Regions from separate parts of the Homo sapiens genome. Here all the other regions are linked to region 7. Evidence: promoter capture Hi-C in 16 types of primary human blood cells and fetal thymus (Javierre and others, 2016). All regions are on one chromosome and are shown on one strand. Each heading gives the region's core, a stretch centred on a gene start or on the middle of the fragment in contact. The rest is flanking DNA. Distances are from core to core; before and after follow the strand shown.

Region 1 (2,894 bases), core at 92-2,591, 500 kb after region 7:
CCTCAAGTGATCTACCCACCTCGGCCTCCCAAAGTGCTGGGATTACAAGCATGAGCCATTATGCCCAGCCTGTGATTATATGGTTATTTTGAATTCTCTATTTTGAATATATGGTTATTTCAAATTCTCTTTCGGGTAAATTGTATATCTCTTTCATTGGGGTCAACTTCAGGAGATTTATCTTGTACCTTTGTTTAGGACATATTTCCCTGTTTCTTCATTATCCTTGGATCTTTGTGCTGGTGTCTGTGCATTAGACAAAACAGCCACCTCTCCCAATCTTCACGGACTGGCCTTGTACTGGAGAAGACCTTCACCAATCAGCCCAGCCAGAGATACTGGGGACCTCTCAAATTTTTGTGCTAGTCCAAACCACCATCTTTGCAGCCTCCAGGCATCTTGAGTATGGCTAGTTTCCATAGCACTCTGGCACAGGTGAGACAGAAGCCCATCCCTGATACTGTCCACAGAAAAGACAGAATATTGGACACAGGTCTAACTCTTTCTCTCTCCAGGGAGAGCCTGGGACCCAGGGTTTTTCACTGGCTCGCTCTGAACTTGGCCGGGGGAGAGGGCTGTGGTGAATATTCATATGCTAGTTAAAATTACCCTCTTTGTTCTCAATGGCTCCTAGACGTCTGGAGTATGCTGGATTCCATCCGCATTCTAAGACAGGCAAGACAGAAGCTAGTGCATTGGCAGCTCTCAGAAAAATCTGAATGTTGAATGTATGGTCCAGTTATTTCCTCCTCTCCCTGCAAAGAAGCTGGGAGGGGGATTTCCTCCTAACCATATGATACTATGCTGAGAAAGCAGGGATTATTGTGATAGAGTATCTTAAAATCTTTCTACCAACTTTGATTTGGCTGGTTTTACACTCATCCAGGGTGCAAGAGCCTCTCAAATTGTTACTAGATTTCTCACAAATAAAATTTATCTGAGTATTATTATTGAATTAGTGTGCCCATGACGGTGAGGAGGGTCCAGGGCTGCTTATTCCCTCATCTTGCTGATGTCACTCTCCAAAAAACACGAATTTGAAATTAAATGACCTGGATTTACATCCTTACCTATGATATGAGCTCAGAGAAGTTCATTCCCTTTTTTGAGTCTTGTTTATCTCATCTCTTGAATTGAAATAATAATAATGCTGCCTACCTCATAGTTTTGTTTTTTTGTTTGTTTGTTTTTGTTTTTGTTTTTTTTTGCAAAAGGTAAGGTATTGTGTGTGAACATGTTTGGGGGAGGGAGTGATGATGTTTATTTCCATAAACTTCATTGTTCCTATTGTTGACCCAGGTGGCTCAGATGAAGAATTTTGTGAAAATTCTACTTCGTTAAGCAGACAAATTGCCCATTGCCCATCCCAACCCAGTGGTGCTCAAACTTCACCCACTTACCTTGTAAGTACTAGGGGCACAGAACTCTATTCATAAATTAACCATCAAAATGCAAATGTTAACATTAACTTAGTGGTTGAAATAGGAAGTTGCAGATAACCATTACCTCTATCTTCTCTGCTAAGTTCCTGATCTTGTGGGTTTGGTTATCTTATTTGGGGTAGTTCTGGAGGAGGACAAGTTCTCCACATGAAATTGTAATATCACCAAAGCCTCTTTTCTGGTACTGGGATTGAAATGTGCTTTTGTTATCCTCTTGGAATCTTCTAGCCTTATAGCTCTGTGCAAGCATTTGTAATAATGATAATAATGGCAGTGTTGTTGTTGATGATGATTCTGCCATTTCATCAAGGCTTATTAGATGCCAAACAAGGCACTAAGCACTTTGGCACATTTCTCATTTGATTCTCCCAACAACTGTATAAAGTTGGCCTATTATTCCCATGTTACAGATAAAGAAATAAACTGGGAAAGGCTCCACATTTGCCCTAGATACAGGCAATAAATGGTGGAGCAGGGATTTGAACAATTCAGGTTTATGACTCCTGATCATGAACACCTAAACACAGTACAAAACCTTTATATTTGGCACAGAGGTTTCTCTGGTTTGTGAGGGAAATATTCATTGCTTCCCATTGCCCCTTACTTCGTAGTTTTTCCTTCTGGTCCCCTCTAGGGCCCTGTTCCCCACCCCTTCATACTCCATCATTCCTCCAAAGGCCTCTCTGCCCAAGCCTTTGAGCACCCAGCTAATCTCTATGGTACCTTCCTGAACTAAGGCCAAGTCTTACTCATTTATTTTTCTCCACAGGGAAATAATCGTCCTTTTGCATAATTGATCCAAACTGGAAACTAGATTGTCTTTTCTGAATATCTAAGCAAATTAAAATGCATAATCACATGACCTAAGTGATTTAGAACTTAGAAGAAAGACTACCCTTCTAACCATGAGTTTTAATCCTGTAAAAGTTCATCTCAGAAGTAAATTCAGTTTCCTACAATCAAAGAACTCTAAAGCTAGAAGGACCTGAATTTATGGAGGAGAAAACTAGTGCCCAGACAGTAAGGTAGTAAGGAAATGAATATCAATCAATCACTTTCTAGTCAGATAGTCTACTAGGTACCTTTGCATATAGTATTTCATCCTCACCCCAGAACCTGAGTGTTCAGGTTCCATTTTTGTCACCATGTAGCAGAGATGAAGAATCTGAAATGTTGGGAGTAAATTTAACTCATTCAAAATGACACAAGTAAGCAGGCTTCAGTCGGCCTGACCCATCATATTTATTGTGAGTTAGAGAGATGAGACACTGACCTAGGCCAGGCTGTGACAAAACATAACAGCTGGGAGAAAATGCAGAAGAGAGATCATGGATTCCAATACCAGCTATGAGCACCAGACAAGACACACCTAGGCTTCCTGCACATCACTTTACTCCTCAGCAAACTGGGAGTTTAAAAAGTAACAAATCCCATCTGGGCGCAGTGGCTCAC
Region 2 (2,700 bases), core at 144-2,643, 400 kb after region 7:
ACTGGCCTCCCAAAGTGCTGGGATTACAGGTGTGAGCCACCACACCCAGCCAAGAACATTGAACTCTTATTGGTGATGTTTGAAGAATCGTGGGGAACCTAAAATTTGGGAGACTGGATCTATATTAGCATCAGAGAAAATTTTCATTCAATCTGAACTGATCAAAATAAGGATAGCTCCCTCTCCTTCAGGAAGCATTGAGCATGCCAGCATTTGCAAAATATATACCCGAACTTGAATTGCAAGAGCAGTTTTTTCCTTTTTGGCCCTGAAAATAACTTACAACATCCAAGAAGACTTTAAACAATCTATCTTTTACCTATTGCACAATTTGTTATTATACAATAGGGGGCTTATTGTTATTATTGTTGTTTGTAATGGTATTTCTAGGGCTTTCTATATTTCAAATGACTGACTCTTAATTCTGTTTAGTGCTGAATCACTGTTTTCCTCTTTCGTTTTTCTTTTAACTGGTAAATATTAACTTCCTTCATACAGCTCTGTCCTAAGACAGGTACAGCTAGCTTATTGGTGACAGCCGGACATGCTTGCACTGAATGACCGATGGTTTCCACTCTTCTTCTTTCCTCCTCTTTCCTAGTAGCTCAGTTCAATAAGGTTAAGCCCTTTTCTGATGGTTTGAGATACATTTAAAATGAATTTCTTATATTTATTTTTCTGGTGAAATAATATGTTATCAGGGAAACAATAGGGATTTGGCTTTTAAAAATTCATCATAGTCTTGTTAAAAAAAAAATTATTCAATGGCACTTGTGAAAGCCTGGTAAGGGAGACTTTATTCAGGAACACTGCAGTAAACAAAGGAACCACCATAACAGGGTCTTGCATTGGGAGACAGAGATTGGACTCATCTCCTAACATAGCATGGGCAAGTGAGAATTTACAGCCAAGGAGCAGGGTGGCGGTCAGTGGATGGAAAATTACTAAGAGGAAGCATCACCAGTAGGGAAATTTTGGCTAAACTGACCTAAAAGTGCTCTTGCTGAAGACAGGCGAGGGTGATCAAACATCACTTGGAGAATGGTGGCAGATAAGAGATCTGATCCGCTATTAAGGGTGATCAGATATCGAGGATGGGGAGTTCTTGCTAAACCTATTTAGCAGGGCTCTTTGCTAAAATTTTACAAAACTGGATTTTACAAGGAAGTGCACCCATGGGCCTATGAGAAGGTTCAGAAGCTTGACTAAACTATGGACAAGGAAAAAAATCTTCATTGGTCCTTACTGCCTTTTTAAAGAAACATTGGACTTCATGGCCACTAGTGAGGGTTTGGATTTAACTAATGAGTATCACTAGAAATTGGACATGCATGAGATTCACCATCCCTGTCCACCACCTCTGCTGATTGTCTTAATAACTGGTTAATTTTGCCACCTCTAAAATATCTTTCCTGCACATTTCTTCATTGTATTTATAATTTGAATTATCTTCTTTGCAACTAAGGCATTTCCCAATTTATCACCTAGTAATCTATACTCATCTTGCATATCCTTTCGTGACCTAGATTATGTGTGCAGTATATCCTTCATAAGCTCTTAAATTTAAAGGATATTTTATATTTTACAAAGCTTTTTCCCATTTTGGCCTGGCACAGTGGCTCACACCTGTAATCCCAGCACTTTGAAAGGCCAAGGCAGGAGGATCATTTGAGGTCAGGAGTTCGAGACCAGCCTGGCCAACATGGCAAAACCCGTCTCTACTAAAAATACAAAATTAACCAGGCTTGGCAGTGTGCACCTGTATTCCCAGCTACTCGGGAGGCTTAGGCACGAAAATCACTTGAACCTGGGAGGCAGAGTTTGCAGTGAGCTGAGATCGCGCCACTGCACTCCAGCCTGGGTGAAAGAGCAAGACTTTGTCTCAAAAATTAATTAATTAATTAATATTTTTAAAAAAACAAAGTTCTTTCACATCTATTCCCATGCCACTAAGTCAAGAGACTAATTTTTAAGACTTCGGGAAAGATCTATGGATCCCATCCATGCTGACTTAGAGCATAAGCAAATAGTTCATTTAAACAGCAACCCTTTAACCAGGCACAGTGGCTCACACCTGTAATCCTAGCACTTTGGGAGGCCAAGGTGGGTGGATCACTTGAGGTCAGGAGTTCAAAACCAGCCTGACAAATGTGGTGAAACCCCGTCTCTATTAAAAATGCAAAAAATTAGTGGGGTGTGGTGACACGCACCTGCAATCTCAGCTACTCGGCAGGCTGAGGCAGGAGAATCGCTTGAACCCAGGAGGCGGAGGTTGCAGTGAGCCAACATCAAGCCACTGCACTCTAGACTGTGCGACAGAGCAAGACTGTGTCTAAAAAGAGCAATCCTTGGATTTTGTTTGCAACAGCTCTAGACTATTTATCAGGAAATCACTACCATCAAATATTTTTCCAGTTCCAGCTAGGTTCAGGTGTTGCCAAGAAGTTTCTGATGAAGTGGGCTACAGGAGGGAACTTACTTCTAGATGTTATAGAACTATTGTTGTAAGATGAATTTATTTAGGTGGGCAAACTGATGAGACCAACATGAGTAACACCAAATGCCGTACACCACGCAGATGGGCAAGTTTCATGTTATACTGGGGACTCATGGGCTCATTACACCCATCTTTTGGGCCATTTTTATGTCTCAAATATCAGTTTTTATTCTGTTGTCTTAACTTATAGCCACTGAGATAAC
Region 3 (2,918 bases), core at 361-2,860, 310 kb after region 7:
TGGGAGAAAAGATGGCTAGTAAGAGTAGGAACCTCACAGGAATTCCTTTCGGTTCATTCCATTTGCAAATGATCCCAATGAGGAAAAATTGCCAGAGGCCTAGAGTGGAAGGAGCTAATGCAAAAATTATTCTGGCAATGTGAATTCTAAACACTATTGGGATGCAAGCGTTGGCTGGACAATCATTAGAACATTGTGCCAAGGATTCGCAGTGTCTGGTAATTGGTTATTATTATTGGACTTCAGAGGTCACTTCAGTTCTTGAGATACTTCAAAAGTTCCCAAATGTTTTTGTTGGATTCAAAATTGACCATTCGCTGATTTTTGAAGTCCATAAGCAACAAAATATGTAAAATATGTAAAATTTAAAAAGAAACACAAAGTGCCATACATACTTATTAGGCATCCTTTGGAGGAAACAGGAAGGCTGTCTTCCAGGGTAGTAAATACTACCTTGAAAAACGTACCAGTATCTGGCCTTCAGCCTTGCACACTCCAGAAACTGAAATTATTTACATTCTAAGAGTGAAACCACCTCTGGGAGCAGGCTCACTTTCACCAAGCCCATAACATTAGTACCAGTTGAAGAATCTACATGAGAAATAACTTAAAGAGAAGATGACATTTTCATGGGTCTTTTTGACCAGGATATTTTCTTCCTATAGATATACCTGCATGAAAAGTGAAATTATAACCAAAGGTTATTTTCTTTTTTATAATTAAACTTTTTGAGATAATTGTAGATTCACATGCAGTTGCAAGAAATAATACAAAGAAACCTCTGTACTCTTTACCAAGTTTCCCCCCAATGATAACTTCTTGCAAAACTACAGTACGGTATCACAAGTCCAATGGTGACATTGATACCTTCAAGACACAGAGTAGCTCCATCAGCACAAGGATCCCTTGTATTGCCCTAAAAGCTTATTTTCTCAGCAAATATTTAGAACATTCTAATATTCTAGAAGTTCTAATAATACGGAATGGCATCTAATGCATTTGTTCTAAAACAGATTTTGCCAGGCACTCTGGAAAATTCAAGTGCCTTGGGTGGCTCTCCCTCCCCCATGCAATGTGTCGTAACCAGCACTTCTGAATTTGTCTCAGACTCTCTCTTTTCTCTAAGCTGCCATGGCTCACCAAACCTCCACCCCCATTTATAAGTCCCAGGTTCTTTTTAAAACCATCTTCAATCAACTTACAGTAATTTCTGCAGGTCTTGAAGCAGCCCCTCCCATGTTCCCCAACTTCTGATACAACCTCATTTATGCCTTTGCCTCATAAAGACCTACAAAACATTTTTAATTTTGTTTACTTTTGCCATCATATTTATGGATCATTTATGAAGTTTCAGGCCATAGCATACAAATTATATTTTAGGCAACTCCGGATTTTGTCCACTTTCTCTTTCTTCCAAATAAAAATATAAGCTGCAGCCATGCAGGTCTGTCTTCAGAAACTGGCATGGGCTCTTTGTTATCATTAGACAGTAACATGACATCATACACCTGTTTGTGTGATTCCCCCATCACACTCCTTCCCCTGGGATCCCTCAGTGAGTTCTGATGGTTTATGCACATCCTACTGCAATTTTTCCTATGACTGCCATTAAACATAAAAGACAATTCCACACTTCAGTCCTCTATTAAAATATAATATTATTATGGACAAGACCAAGTAATGCTTTCACGAAATGGTTTTTCATTTTCTTTAGCTCTGTCCAGTGTACAATGTATGTAACAAAACTTCCCTATTTTTCCACTGGAGAACCTCCATTCAGAATTCCCCCTAGATGGCAGATGTTGGCATGATTTTACTCCAGTATGTGTTTTAAAAAGAAAAGGAATGACACTCCCTAATTCCAATCCCAGCTATAACATTGATAGTTTAAGAAGTGTGAGAGAGCCCCCAGAACTGCCAATATTGGAAGTCCTATCAACATCAGATTGACTCACTGGAGAATTGTGAGGTTTGTTATGTTCAGAGTTTGCTCATGTGTAAAATGTGGAAAAATGGAAAAAGAATCAGAGGAACATGTATAATGATTCCCACTGAGGTTAACAAGTGTAGATTTGTTTCTAAGATATTAAGAACTTCATGAAATTATAGAAATTTTGAAGACTGATAATACTGATATTATATGAAATTATAGAAATTTTGAAGACTGATAACACTGTATTATGTAAGTTGTTCTGAGAGATTCCCACGGTATTTGTATGATGTTTCAATACCTTCTTTCAGCTTAGATAAGAATATTGGAATCTTCTGAAAATCGATATCAGAATCTACCCAACCTAAAAGCTTTCTACTGTACCTGTCTAATTAATATAAAAGCTTGAGAGTACTTGATATAAGTATAAATAAATGATATAAAGGCTTGAGAGGATGTTGATAGAACTTCTAGGGATTGGATTTAGGGAGTGTCCTTCCTTTTCTTTTTAAAACACATACTGGAGTAAAATCATGCCAACATCTGAAGTCCCCTCAGAATGGAGTACAGATATTATGAATCCAGATTCACCAAGAAGTTAGTTTTTTTTTTTTTAATTTAAAAAGCTGCTCATGCTGGGAATGTAAACTGGTACAACCACTGTGGAAAATAGTGTGGAGATTCCTTAAAGAACTAAAAGTAGAACTACCATTTGATCCAGCAATCCCAAAACTGGATATCTACCCAGAGGAAAAGAAGTCATTATACGAAAAAGATACTTGCACGTGCATGTTTATAACAGCACAATTTGCAATTGCAAAAAATATGAAACCAGCCCAAATGCCCATCAATCAATGAGTGGAAAAAGAAATGGTTGTATATATGATGGAATACTACTCAGCCATAGAAAGGAATGAATTAATGACACAGCAATCTGGATGGAATTGGAGACTATTATTCTAAGAGAAGTAATTCAGGAATGGAAAAC
Region 4 (2,963 bases), core at 10-2,509, 460 kb after region 7:
ATAACCTCTTCATCTGATGGAAAAACTCTGGTTATTTTTTTAATTTATACAAGACAGCCAATTTTGGAATTAATGAGTGAAACAGACAATTATAACTTTTGAATAACAGTTTATTAGGAGGTTAACAAAGGATTTCTATTGCATCTCCAAAGACCAAGAGTGACAAGGAAGATTTGCTCCAATTATGTTCTGTTTCATAGCATGCCCATCAGCTCTATCACATTTAATGGAATTTTCTCTAAATTGTATTATTTAAGTTTTATTCAAGTATAACATGTTATGCAAATGTGTCTTTATGGTGATAGATATTGCTTGATCTTGATCCTGCTGTAGGTCTCTCTATGTGACTCAGAAGACAGATTTTGCAGCCTTATGCTGAAGAATCAAGCCAGGGAATACAGTGGAAGGCTAGAGCTGACCCCTGGAAGCCAGGGTTGATAGAAAGGTTTCTGCCTCTTTCCAAAGTGTGGTCACTGTTGGAGATGTTGGGATGAAGTAGAGTTGAGGTGTGACTGATGCCTTTCTTCTCCTCCTGGTTGTGGGGCCTCTAGTACCCAAATGTGTTGCAAGGCCCACACCGAGCACGTAGGCCACAGGGATTAGAGATACAGGGCCCAGTGGACTTGTCACATGCATTGGTTGTGGCGCAGGGGTTGGAGGGGAGCCTGTGGGCAGAAAATCATTGGAGCAAGTTAGAGTAAAATGAGCTGAAGAGATTGGAAAATACTAAAAGGGCTTTGTGTAAGAATATTGTTCCTCCTTGGACTTCCTCCAAACAAAAGCTTGAAATTATAAATTCATTTCCATCAAGAAGACTATTCATCTCCACAGCAACCTAACATGCCCCAAGGAGAAGATTACTACCCCCATACTGACTTGCAGTCCTCGCTCTCCAGCAGGCTCCGGTACGTGTTGATCTCACACTCCAGCCGCGCCCGCACGTCCAGCAGCACCTGATACTCCTGGTTCTGCCGCTCCAGGTCACTGCGGATCTCCGCCAGCTGGGACTCCACGTTGGTGATCAGTCTCTGCACCTGGGACAGCTGGGAGCTGTAGCGGGCCTCGCTCTCTGTCAGCGTGTTTTCCAGAGAGTCTCGCTGTGGTGGGGAAGATTGAGAGTGTCAGAGAGCTGCTCCTTATAAGGTTCCTCCATGGGGTTCCAAAGAACTCACAAGCTCCAAGAGCTAAGGAGAGTGTGTGGCCCCAAGGGCATCCCCAAGACTCTGCCTCCCAAGTTCCCATCGCTCACCAGCAGGTCTGAACAATACACACCAGGTTGTGCTGGGCCTGCAGCTCGATCTCCAGGGCATTGACCGTGCGTCTCAGCTCGATGATCTCCGCCTGGTAGGACTGCAGCTGCTCCGAGCTGGATACCACCTGCTTGTTCAGCTCCTCGGTCTGAAACACCCAAGGGGAGAAAGGATCAGACCCTGCCTCCGGGGCCCTGGGGGGCCTCGGGTCCTGAGTGGCCACGTGCTTAGATGCCCACCTGCGTGGCGAACCATTGCTCCACTTCCCTGCGGTTGGTTTCCACCAGGGCCTCATACTGACTCCTGGTCTCATTCAGGACCTGGTTCAGGTCCACAGTGGGAGCAGCGTCCACCTCCACGTTGAGGCGGTCTCCAAGCTGGCAGCGCAGGGTGTTAACCTCCTGATGGAGAAAGGGCAAAATTTTAAATTTCACAAAGGATCTTGGTGCTCTCCTTAAGAGAATGCAATTCAACTTCTGATCATTCTTAAGCTTTCAAGAAACTTTGTTCCCTCTGATCCTGTCACTAACCAGGATCTATATTCAATGACTAATTTGTATACTCCACTTTTTACAAACTACTTTCAAGCCCATGACTTCCCTCTGCTCTTTGTATTAAATGTATCACTCCTCATTTAGAGAGATTCAGTGATTTGGGCTCAAAGCTGATACATGGTGGGCCATTATTTAAACTCTGGTCCCCAAATGCCCAGTTCAGTGTTTTTGCTAGTATACCATATAGCCTCACATGTTTGACTCTTAAGCATGGATAATAAAAAGAACAGAGTCTAGCTAAAGAGGAAATACAGAATGCTTACTTCAAAATCTGCCATCCTGGCATAGAAGAGACTTAAAGGGTGATTTGTTGATTCCACCAGCATAGATTTTGCTGAAGGCAATAAGTATCTGTTTACTTCCCTGCTAAGCATAGCTTGGTACTTGGGCTTAGGCGGATTTCAGACAAATTTGTATTCAACCTCATCTCTACCACTTAATACATTGCTTCTAGAAGCTTCTTGAAGCCTCGATTTCTTCATCTTAACATGAGAACTGCCTCCGGAGTTAAAGCACTTAGCACAATGTTTGGCACATACTAAGCACTTGATTAATATTAACTGTCACCATTTACATTGTTCTTGGATTTCAGGTTGCATAAAATACACGTCTTCTTTTTTGCCCAACTGACTTAGCCATAATGGTGAGCATTTTGCTCAAGGCTGTTTCCAAGCAACACTGAACAGCAAGCAGAAAGAGCTCTGGACAGGAACGAAGAGAATTGCATTTTGTTCTAGCTCAGCCCTCTCTGCCTGATGGGCCTAGGCCATCCTGGCTTCTCCAGCTACAAATGGAGAATTGGAATAGAAGATTGCTGCTGCATGCACTCTAACCTGGGCACAGGAGAGGCTGTGGCTTCTGCCTCATTACCCAGCTTTCCTCACTACTGGGCTTGCCAACTTCCTCACTCTCATTCCTGCCTCTGGCAGAAAAATCCTAATCTCATATCACAGGTTTTTAGATTAGTCATTCTCTACATATCCCTTTTTGTATGCAGAATTACTTCCTCAGCTAATTGAGCCTCTACTGACAGCCTGTCCTGGACCCTGTGGCAGTTGTGAAACAGGTCCTGGCTAGTCTGAGCCCATCACTCTTCAGGGAACTCACCTGCTCATGGTTCTGCTTGAGGCACAGCAGCTCCTCCTTCAGGGACTCCACC
Region 5 (2,889 bases), core at 38-2,537, 450 kb after region 7:
CCTCAGCAGCTCAGACTCTGAAGGTATCTGTTGTTCATGTTCCCAGTGCTCCCACCAAAGAGAATTACTACAGAGAATACTCTTGGTCCTGAGGTGGGCAAAACAGCATGCCCTGTGGATGGAGCCGGCTTCTTTCCCAGCCACCATGCTTGCTGGATGGGCCCGCAGAGCAAGTGGCCATGAGACGGGCATGGGGACGGGAGAGGCTCAGCATCCTGCACATGCCCTTACCAAGGCTCACCAGGCTGACACCACTGCTGAGCGCCTTGTCTGTGGAAAACAGATTCACACCCAACCCCTGGGATGGCACCATTTCCCAGAAGGACCAGCTGGCCACCTACTGGCAGGCTGACCACACTGCGGAAGGGGCTGAGATTGGCTTTCACTGCACTGAGCCACAACGTGGACATGCACTTGCCGGCCCTGCAGTGCACACAGCACTGCTTCCGACCAGGGCACCCCATTCACAGCTAGGGACAAGCAGCAGTACACTCCCGAGGCCCCACAACCCAAACAAGCTTCCCATCCTCGTTTTACTTTTTTGTTAAACTTATGAAAATTTATGAAGAAAGTGCACAGCTCTAAAGACATTAACAGATGGAACACATCAGCCCCCAGATCACAAAGCCAACCCAGCCTCTGCGCCCCCAGCCCTGCAACCAGTGTTCTGACTTCTGACAACACCATGAGCCTGCCTTTTGTACTTTACACTCATGGAAGGATAACCACGTCCATGTTTTAAAATAAATGTTTACTTTTGAAATGATTTTAGATATATAGAAAAACTGAAAAGGCATTATAGTGTACTCCGACACCTTCCGTCCAGCTGCCCCTAATAATGACATTTTGCATTACCATGGCACATTTGTCCAAATTAAGAAATTTAGGCCAGGTGTGGTGGCTCACACCTGTAATCCCAGCAGTTTGAGAGGCCAAGGCAGGAGGTTAAGGTTCATTTGAGTCCTGGAGTTTGAGACCAGCCTGGGCAACATAGGTAGACCCTATCCCTGGAGAAAAGTTAAAAAAAAAAAAAAAAAAAAATAAGGAGCCAGGCATGGTGGCGTGTGCCTATAGTCCCACCTAATCAGGAGGCTGAAGCAGGAGGATCGCTTGAGCCCAAGAGATCCAGGAAGCAGTGAGCTATGATCGCACCACTGCATTCCAGCCTGGGCGACAGAATGAGACTTTCTCTCTTAAAAAAAAAATTAAGGAATTTAACATGGGTGCAATCCTGTTAACTGAATAATAATGTTAACTATTATTTAAGGTTATTAATGCTGTCACTATATTAATATGGTGAAATTCATTCAGATTTCACCTGTTTTTGCTTAACTTCTGGTACCTGTCCCAGGATCCCACCTCGGACTCACCTTCTGTCTTTAGGTCATTCCTCCTTAGCTTCCTTCAGAGGTTGCAACCAAACACACACCTTGGCTGAATGGTAGAGCTGATTGCTCCTGGGCTCCAAACCTCTGCAGCATGTTACCATACTGAGTACCATAGGTAGTGGTAACACAATGATGGCTATTTGTGTATCTAAACACAGAAAAGAATGATAAAAATACAGTATAAATGATAAAAAAAAAAAAAAATTGGTACACCTGGCCAGATGTAGTGGTTCATGCCTATAATCCCAGCACTTTGAGAGACCATGCCGGGAGGATCACTTGAGCCCAGAAGTTCTAGACTAGTCTGGGCAACATAAAAAGACCCCATCTCTTTTTAGATATCAATTTTTAGAGATGGTACACCTGTATAGGGCAGCTCCATTATAACCTTATGGGACCACCATTCTATATGCATTCTGGCACGGACTGAAATGTTGCTATCTGACACATGATTGCATAGGTAAGTAATCTAGAGATGATTTAAAGCATATGGGAAGATGTGCTTAGGTTATATGCAAATACTGTACCATTTTATATCAAGACTGGAGCATCTGTGGATTTTGGTATTTGTGGGAGGTGGTGAAACTGATTCCCGACGTACGCAGAGAGACAACTGTAAACATTTCGGACCCCACAGAAGGCTCAATTGCCTGCCCCCTCACCCTCAGGTAAGCTTTCTAAAGTGTTTGTTTCACTTTACCTGCTCATCCGTGAGCCAGAGGGCTCCATCAACAGCTTGGGCTGTCTCAGAAAGACCTGGATTCAATCCCATTCAGCCACTTAGTAGCTGTGTCACTTTGGGCAAATCATGTAACTTCTCTGAACCTCAGTGTCCTCATCTGTAAATTGGGCCGATGGTGACCCTTACTTTGCAGGCCCCCGTGAGGACTAAGTGAGATGAAAGCTGACACCCCAAGTGACACCACTTCTCCCTTCCTCAGACTCAACAGGAAAACGCCTTCACTGCCCAATGCAAAGGCTATGGGGAGGATGAGAGGCTCCAGGGATCCCCTGTCCCAGGAGCATAAACCCTGGATTTTTGCTTCCAGAAATAACCTTCTCTAGGATCAGGATGGTTCTTAACTCCCCAAAGACTGTGAGCCCACCCTAGGCGGCATCTTCAGCAGTGGGGAAGGGGATGCACAGTGCCAGCCTCACCCTGGCCACTGTCTGCCCTCATGACTCAGAGCCCAGCTAGGTCCCCACGCAGAGCAGTGCAGGAACCTACCTTGGTCCCAGGCTCCAGCCATCCCGGCCACCCCCACCTGCCACCACCCTGTCTCCTCCATCCCTCAGCCCCTGCTTGCCTCGTTCACAGCTCAGTGTCCTGACATCTTAGCTCCTTGCATGTCACCGTCGTCTGTCTCCTCAAGGGGAGTGCAGCACAAGGGCAGGAAACTCGGTCAGTCTGTGGATGTGTCTCTGGTGTCAGGCAGAGATTAAAAGCTCCATATATACTTGCCCAGTGTCTGCGTGCATTCCAAAGCAAGAGACAGCTTTG
Region 6 (2,970 bases), core at 377-2,876, 380 kb after region 7:
AAACAGGATGCATATAGAGGGAAGATGATGTAAGAGACACATGGAGAAGATAGACATCTACAGGTCAAGGAGAGAGACCTGAAACAGATATTTCCCTCACAGCCCTCAGATGAAAACAACATTGCCAACACCTTTATTTTAGCCTTCAGAACTGTGAGAAAATAAACTTCAGCCACTTGATTTGCCATAGTTTTTAATGGCAGTGTAATGCTTTAATATATATAGTAAATTTCTTGAGTTTCAGATATATTCTCCCTACGCTCTATGGCTTCACGAAAATTATCCCTCATGGAATATTAACTCCTTTATCTACCTGCTGGTCTGCTAACATGAAGGATCCAAAATGAAATGACCAGGTTATAATTGCTGCTTTTGATTATGCCAAAAACACAGTGAAGCAAATTCTATAATTTTTATTTACATAAAAGTCAAAGAAAAAAACAAAACTGACCTACAGGATTAAAACTTGATAGAGTGACTAGCTACCTTTGGAGATAAGTAAAAAGATATAATTTGGAGGGAATGGAATTAATTTCTATTTTGTAAACTGGTAATGGGGACTTAGATGTATTTATAATGTAATATTATATCAAGTTGGAATTCATAATTTGCACTCTTCTGAAATGAATGGTATAATTTAAAAAGTTTTAAACAATGGTAAACCTCAAAGAGGAATCAGATATCATCTCAACTCACCTAATTCCCTCACTGAAAACAGAGAGACAGAGAGAGAGAGAGAGAGAGAGACAGAGACAGAGACAGAGACAGAGACAGAGACAGAGAAATGGCAATGATTGTGCCAGTAACCTGGATTAGGGCTAGAGCCACAGCTCATATTGCTTTGCCTGGACCTCAAGCAGTAATGTCACAGTAATTCCCAGTCCCACATTCTCATGCTGGTAAGCCCCTCAGTCCCAGACAAATCAGGGTGAATGGTCACCGCAGCACGTAGATTGCTTGATGCTTTGTGAATTCCAGTGAACCCCTCCTCTTTCTACGTGTTTGCTTTGGCTCTGCTCTGCCACATAGCACACATTGTGCTGAACACCCTCTTCCCAAGAGGCTTTTATAGAACTGGAAGAGACAGGTAAAGTAGGTTGTACATAGAGAGATGCCTATCAGTCTTGAATCAGACTTTGGTGGGTGAACAGTCTTGGTCCCAAGCATGGATTCAATTCACCACTGTGAATATATCAACATCATGCTTCTCCCCACAGACACTTCCCAGTCTACATACAGCCAAAGGATGAGACTGGGCAGAGAGAACTTCCTGAGCCTCCCCAGTCACCAGGAACTATCACATGACGAGATGCTGGTCAGAGCAGGAACGAAGCTGATGATGAGACTGCCTTCCTTTTATCTGAAACAAAGTTTCTACGAGTAATTTACAATTAAGAAACAGATTAAACCCTTACTTTCCAAAGATTCATAACATTTAGGAAATGACTTCCTCTTTGACAATGCCAAACTGACTATGGAAAACAACTGTAAACAGCAAGAAAGAAAAATCCTGCTGATTGGTGGAAACTTTGGAGGCCACATGTATAAAAGGTCCAGATTGCAAGGGGTCATCAAATCCTGGGAAACTCACCTCTGAACAGAAGCCCACCCTCCACCCCTGACAACATGACCCACTGTTGCTCCCCTGGCTGTCAGCCTACCTGCTGCAGGACCACTTGCTGCAGGACTACCTGCTGGCAGCCCACCATTGTGACCACCTGCAGCAGCACACCCTGCTGCCAGCCCTCCTGCTGTGTGTCCAGCTGCTGCCAGCCTTACTGCCACCCAACTTGCTGTCAAAACACCTGCTGCAGGACCACCTGCTGCCAGCCCACCTGTGTGACCAGCTGCTGCCAGCCTTCCTGCTGCAGCACACCCTGCTACCAGCCCATCTGCTGTGGGTCCAGCTGCTGTGGCCAAACCAGCTGTGGGTCCAGCTGTGGCCAGAGCAGCTCCTGTGCACCTGTGTACTGCAGAAGAACCTGCTACCACCCCACGACTGTCTGCCTGCCTGGTTGCCTCAACCAGAGCTGTGGATCCAGCTGCTGCCAGCCCTGCTACTGCCCAGCCTGCTGTGTGTCCAGCTGCTGCCAGCATTCTTGTTGCTGAGCAGCACCACAGAGGACCATCATCCTCACACAACAACCTTCTGCTCAACTGACCTTTTTTTTCTTTTGAGACGGAGCCTCACTGTCACCCAGGCTGGAGTGCAGTAGCACGCTCTCGGCTCGCTGCAACCTCCATCTTCTGGGTTCAAGTGATTCTCCTGCCTCAGCCTCCTGAGTAGCTGGGATTACATGCCTGTGCCACCACGCCTGGCTAATTTTTTGTATTTTTAGTATTTTTAGTAGTTTTCACCATGTTGATCAGACTTGTCTGGAACTCCTGCCCTCAGGTGATCCACCTGCCTCAGCCTCCCAAAGTGCTGGGATTACAGGTGTGAGCTACCACACCCAGACCCAACTCACTTATCTTTCAGAAGACAGATTTACTTTCAAACTTTACTGATACACAGTATGCTTTCACCAATTTTTTTTATTTCTTTGCCTGTTTAAAATCTTGGGAATCAGCTTGAGGGAGGGCAGAATACTTCATCCTGATTCTTTTTTCCTTACACTTTGTGGATCATGTGCCAGCTTCATGTGTTCTCAATGTGGAGACATGGTCTCCATTCGACTCTAAAGTCAAGAGCTTCATTCTCTCCTTCTAAGAAACTTAGGTTTCTGCAACTGATCAATAATCTTTGCAATCATATTTTTGTTTTCAATTTTGTCCTCATGTTTCTTTTACCCTTCTTTCTTCTTTTCATTGTAACTTTGGGCTATGTCCCTAGTAGCAGGGATTCTTACCTATATATTTCTGAATAAATTCTGAACCATCCTTCATCTCATATGGTGTTTTATTTTACAGAATTGCTGATATGAGATTTACACACATATTGCATGCTATATGTATTATCCAATTTGATTC
Region 7 (2,778 bases), core at 106-2,605:
GGAGTCCGAATCAAATTGCCCTGATGTTTAGTACAACTCAAGAAAAACAGACTTGCTGGTAAGTAAATGCGCTTTGCTCTAAAGGAGTATGAATCTTAACACAAATTACAGTGAACACTTTTCTTAATTAGATAAGAACTTTAATTTGAAGCAAGTGCTCTGTGTCATATCTGAAATTTTCAATTAGGAGCAAAGTCTTCTGCTTTTATTCCATGAAACTGATAAAATACAGAGCTCCACCCTTTTTTTGATGACATAGGAGGAGGTTGTGATATGATTGTAATAAACATGAATTGGGGGCAATAGAACATTTTATTACTGTAGAAGTAGTTTCTGAACTGCTTGATGCTGATGGTCATGTTATTAAACAGGGCACTTAAAAATCCAGGCATCATTAAGACCCATATTCCTGCCACACTGTTTCCACCCAGAATCACTTTGCTATTTAAATCTGCAGTACAGTATTCTAATAGTCATATTATAACATTTACTTAAATAAAAGGAGAAAAGTCTTTGAATTTACTGGGGTTTCAAAACTTGATAAGGACTAGGTGAAAAACTAAGAGAGATTTATCACGTAATTAATTTTTAGCTCTTTTCAGAAAGATTGTTCACTATACATTTAGCCCTGATGTGATAAGCTGTGACAAAGATTCATTTTATTCCGGAGGATAAAATGTTCATATTTTGTATGTAATTGTGTTAAACATTAAAAATAGCATGATTTAAGGTCATCCTGTTGTACAGTCAGGTACTCCAGCACTAAAGGTAGATGAAAGAATTTTTATAGATGTAACATTTTAGCCTAATTTGCTTTACAAAGTCCATTTGGACCTACCTAACATAGATAACCTCTTGATTTATCTTGAAGCTAAACACAGAGTAGGAAACACAAGCATCATCTCTCACCTGACTTCGCAGCTCTTCAATTTGTCTGTAATATGCACTGTAGTCGCGACCAGCCCTCGGGGCGTTGGTTTCGTACCACTGCTTGATTTGCACTTCAAGTTTGGAGTTGGACTGCTCCAGGGTCCGCACCTTTTCTAGGTAGCTCGCTAGACGGTCATTTAGGTTCTGCATGGCCATTTTCTCATTGCCAACAAACAGGTCCCCGCCGCCTGTGAGATCGCTCCCATAGTTCACCGTGTGTCTGGAGTTGGAGATGCGGATGCCCCGGCCTCCAGCACCCCCATAAACGCTGGGTGTCGTCCCGAGGCGCTGCATGCCCACTGTACTGACTACAGGGGCCTGCAAGGAGGAGCTCAGGCTTCTGTGGAAGCTTCTGCGACTGAAATCCATTGGAGATTCCAGGAGGGAGCACCTGTAGCTTCAGGATGGTTGGGGCAGAGTGTGTCTCATGGAGGGTGTTGAGCTAGCCTTTTATGAAGTCCACAGGCAAGAAACTCCTCCTCTGCTGACATGTCACTAGGATTGGCACCACAGTCCACCTTGCCTTACTTCCACGCCCCCCGCTTTGTATAGCAATATGTTAATATGCTTAATTCAATTCCAGAAAATACCACTAGAGGCATTTCTTGGAGGCTTTTATCAGGGGCAACTTTTTTTTTTTTTTAATTAAACAGGTAATAAAAGGAAACAGGAAAGTGTATTCTTTTAGCCCATGCGCCTGCCTTGGCAGGTTTTTTTCATCCTAACATACACACAAAGAATATTTACAATCCTCATGTATAATTTAGGTATCTAAAAAGGCAGATGTGCCTACATAACTGAAAGTCACAATGGAGATAAAGGACAATGTTTGATTTGTATTGAGGAGTTGCTCTTCAGAACCTCTGTTTCATGCTTTGCTTGTGTTTGGCTTTTAAGTTTATTGTGTTTTGGACATCTTATTTTATAAGACTATTAAAATATTTTGTACAAACACAAAACCTCGAATCCCTAAACCAGGAATGAAACCATTGTACATTTGGAGATGTAGTTTGGGGATGTGAATTAAATGAATTTAGCTGAGTGATGGATTAGATGATTTGGGAGGTTATTTTCTTTCTATTTCTAATGTTCTATGACTAAATATTGCATTTTAGGTTTCCAGTCACCACCTGGCTTCAAGTCCTGTTACCAAGACACTTAGAATAAATCACACAGTGCTTTGTACCTGGCATGGTATCAGGATGGGTCTCCTCTTTTGTATGAGGCCAGCTTAACACCCACCATGAGACAGACTCTGCCCCATCCATCCTGAAGCTACTTACAGGTGCTCCTTCTAAAGTCCCCAGTGGATTTCAGTTGCAGAAGCTTCCATGGAAGCCTGATCTTCCTTGTATGCCCCCATAATCACAGCGAGAGTGGCTGTTTATATAGGAAGGGGTGCAGGCGGGGACTTGGGACTACACTCAGCTTCCAGGGTTGGGCTGGAGGCAGCTGCTTGTGTGTGGACCTCTAGACACATGGGCATGATCTCATCGGTGGGAATCTGATTGTAAGCAACCAATAAATGCCTGAGTCACTTGCTTCCCTTCATTCAAACCCCCTGGCTGAGAATTCACACTTCCCATGAAGCATGTAAATCACTTCCTTAGTTAATTAGATAATCACTAATTAATATAATTAGATAATCAGTTAATCACTTCCAAGTTAATTAGAAGGGATTGGAAAAGTCACTAAAAACATCTAATTAATTGTCATCCTGATACTTTAATGGAATTGAGATTTGTATATAATTAAGCAAGCAAGTAAATGCAAAAAAAATTGGAATTTAATTGTCTTATTTTAGTGGCTTATTTGTTGTTGCTGTTGTTCTGAAAGCCAGTCACTTAA

Evidence for each region. Contacts are between HindIII fragments. The CHiCAGO score rates a contact against its expected background, and 5 or more counts as called.
Region 1: a contact is called between a fragment that was not itself captured here and the fragment with the promoter of KRT20 in region 7, in 1 of 17 cell types (M1 macrophages). The highest score is 6.1, in M1 macrophages.
Region 2: a contact is called between a fragment that was not itself captured here and the fragment with the promoter of KRT20 in region 7, in 5 of 17 cell types (endothelial precursors, M2 macrophages, M1 macrophages and 2 more). The highest score is 8.3, in endothelial precursors.
Region 3: a fragment that was not itself captured here is called in contact with the fragment with the promoter of KRT20 in region 7 in 1 of 17 cell types (M1 macrophages); the score reaches 5.2 in M1 macrophages.
Region 4: a contact is called between a fragment that was not itself captured here and the fragment with the promoter of KRT20 in region 7, in 4 of 17 cell types (M2 macrophages, neutrophils, endothelial precursors and 1 more). The highest score is 5.7, in M2 macrophages.
Region 5: a contact is called between a fragment that was not itself captured here and the fragment with the promoter of KRT20 in region 7, in 10 of 17 cell types (M0 macrophages, M1 macrophages, M2 macrophages and 7 more). The highest score is 18.1, in M0 macrophages.
Region 6: the fragment with the promoter of KRTAP9-6 here is called in contact with the fragment with the promoter of KRT20 in region 7 in 3 of 17 cell types (endothelial precursors, M2 macrophages and erythroblasts); the score reaches 6.8 in endothelial precursors.

What each region holds. Positions count from the first base shown.
Region 1 is chr17:41,387,202-41,390,095 of GRCh38, forward strand. No RefSeq gene overlaps it. Among named protein-coding and RNA genes, the nearest start is that of KRT34, 6.3 kb to the left of the region's middle. The HindIII fragment of the contact is 3,678 bases long and covers 1-2,894 here.
Region 2 is chr17:41,286,783-41,289,482 of GRCh38, forward strand. No RefSeq gene overlaps it. Among named protein-coding and RNA genes, the nearest start is that of KRTAP9-7, 12 kb to the left of the region's middle. The HindIII fragment of the contact is 390 bases long and covers 1,199-1,588 here.
Region 3 is chr17:41,195,749-41,198,666 of GRCh38, forward strand. No RefSeq gene overlaps it. Among named protein-coding and RNA genes, the nearest start is that of KRTAP9-1, 7.3 kb to the left of the region's middle. The HindIII fragment of the contact is 1,378 bases long and covers 922-2,299 here.
Region 4 is chr17:41,345,572-41,348,534 of GRCh38, forward strand. It overlaps KRT33A (keratin 33A), which reads right to left. Exons shown (of 7, transcript NM_004138.4): 3 at 2,912-2,963; 4 at 1,490-1,651; 5 at 1,273-1,398; 6 at 877-1,097; 7 at 521-665. The coding sequence ends at 548. Among named protein-coding and RNA genes, the nearest start is that of KRT33A, 3.8 kb to the right of the region's middle. RefSeq lists enhancers at 889-1,389, 1,390-1,890. The HindIII fragment of the contact is 959 bases long and covers 781-1,739 here.
Region 5 is chr17:41,329,178-41,332,066 of GRCh38, forward strand. It overlaps the pseudogene TBC1D3P7. Among named protein-coding and RNA genes, the nearest start is that of KRTAP17-1, 15 kb to the left of the region's middle. RefSeq lists an enhancer at 364-933. The HindIII fragment of the contact is 1,543 bases long and covers 517-2,059 here.
Region 6 is chr17:41,263,752-41,266,721 of GRCh38, forward strand. It overlaps KRTAP9-6 (keratin associated protein 9-6), which reads left to right and starts at 1,627. Exons shown (of 1, transcript NM_001277331.1): 1 at 1,627-2,109. The coding sequence starts at 1,627. The coding sequence ends at 2,109. The HindIII fragment of the contact is 5,841 bases long and covers 1-2,970 here.
Region 7 is chr17:40,883,887-40,886,664 of GRCh38, forward strand. KRT20 (keratin 20) reads right to left here and starts at 1,356. Exons shown (of 8, transcript NM_019010.3): 1 at 910-1,356. The coding sequence starts at 1,299. All of the region lies in intron 1 of LOC105371777 (a long non-coding RNA gene), which reads left to right. The HindIII fragment of the contact is 977 bases long and covers 1,278-2,254 here.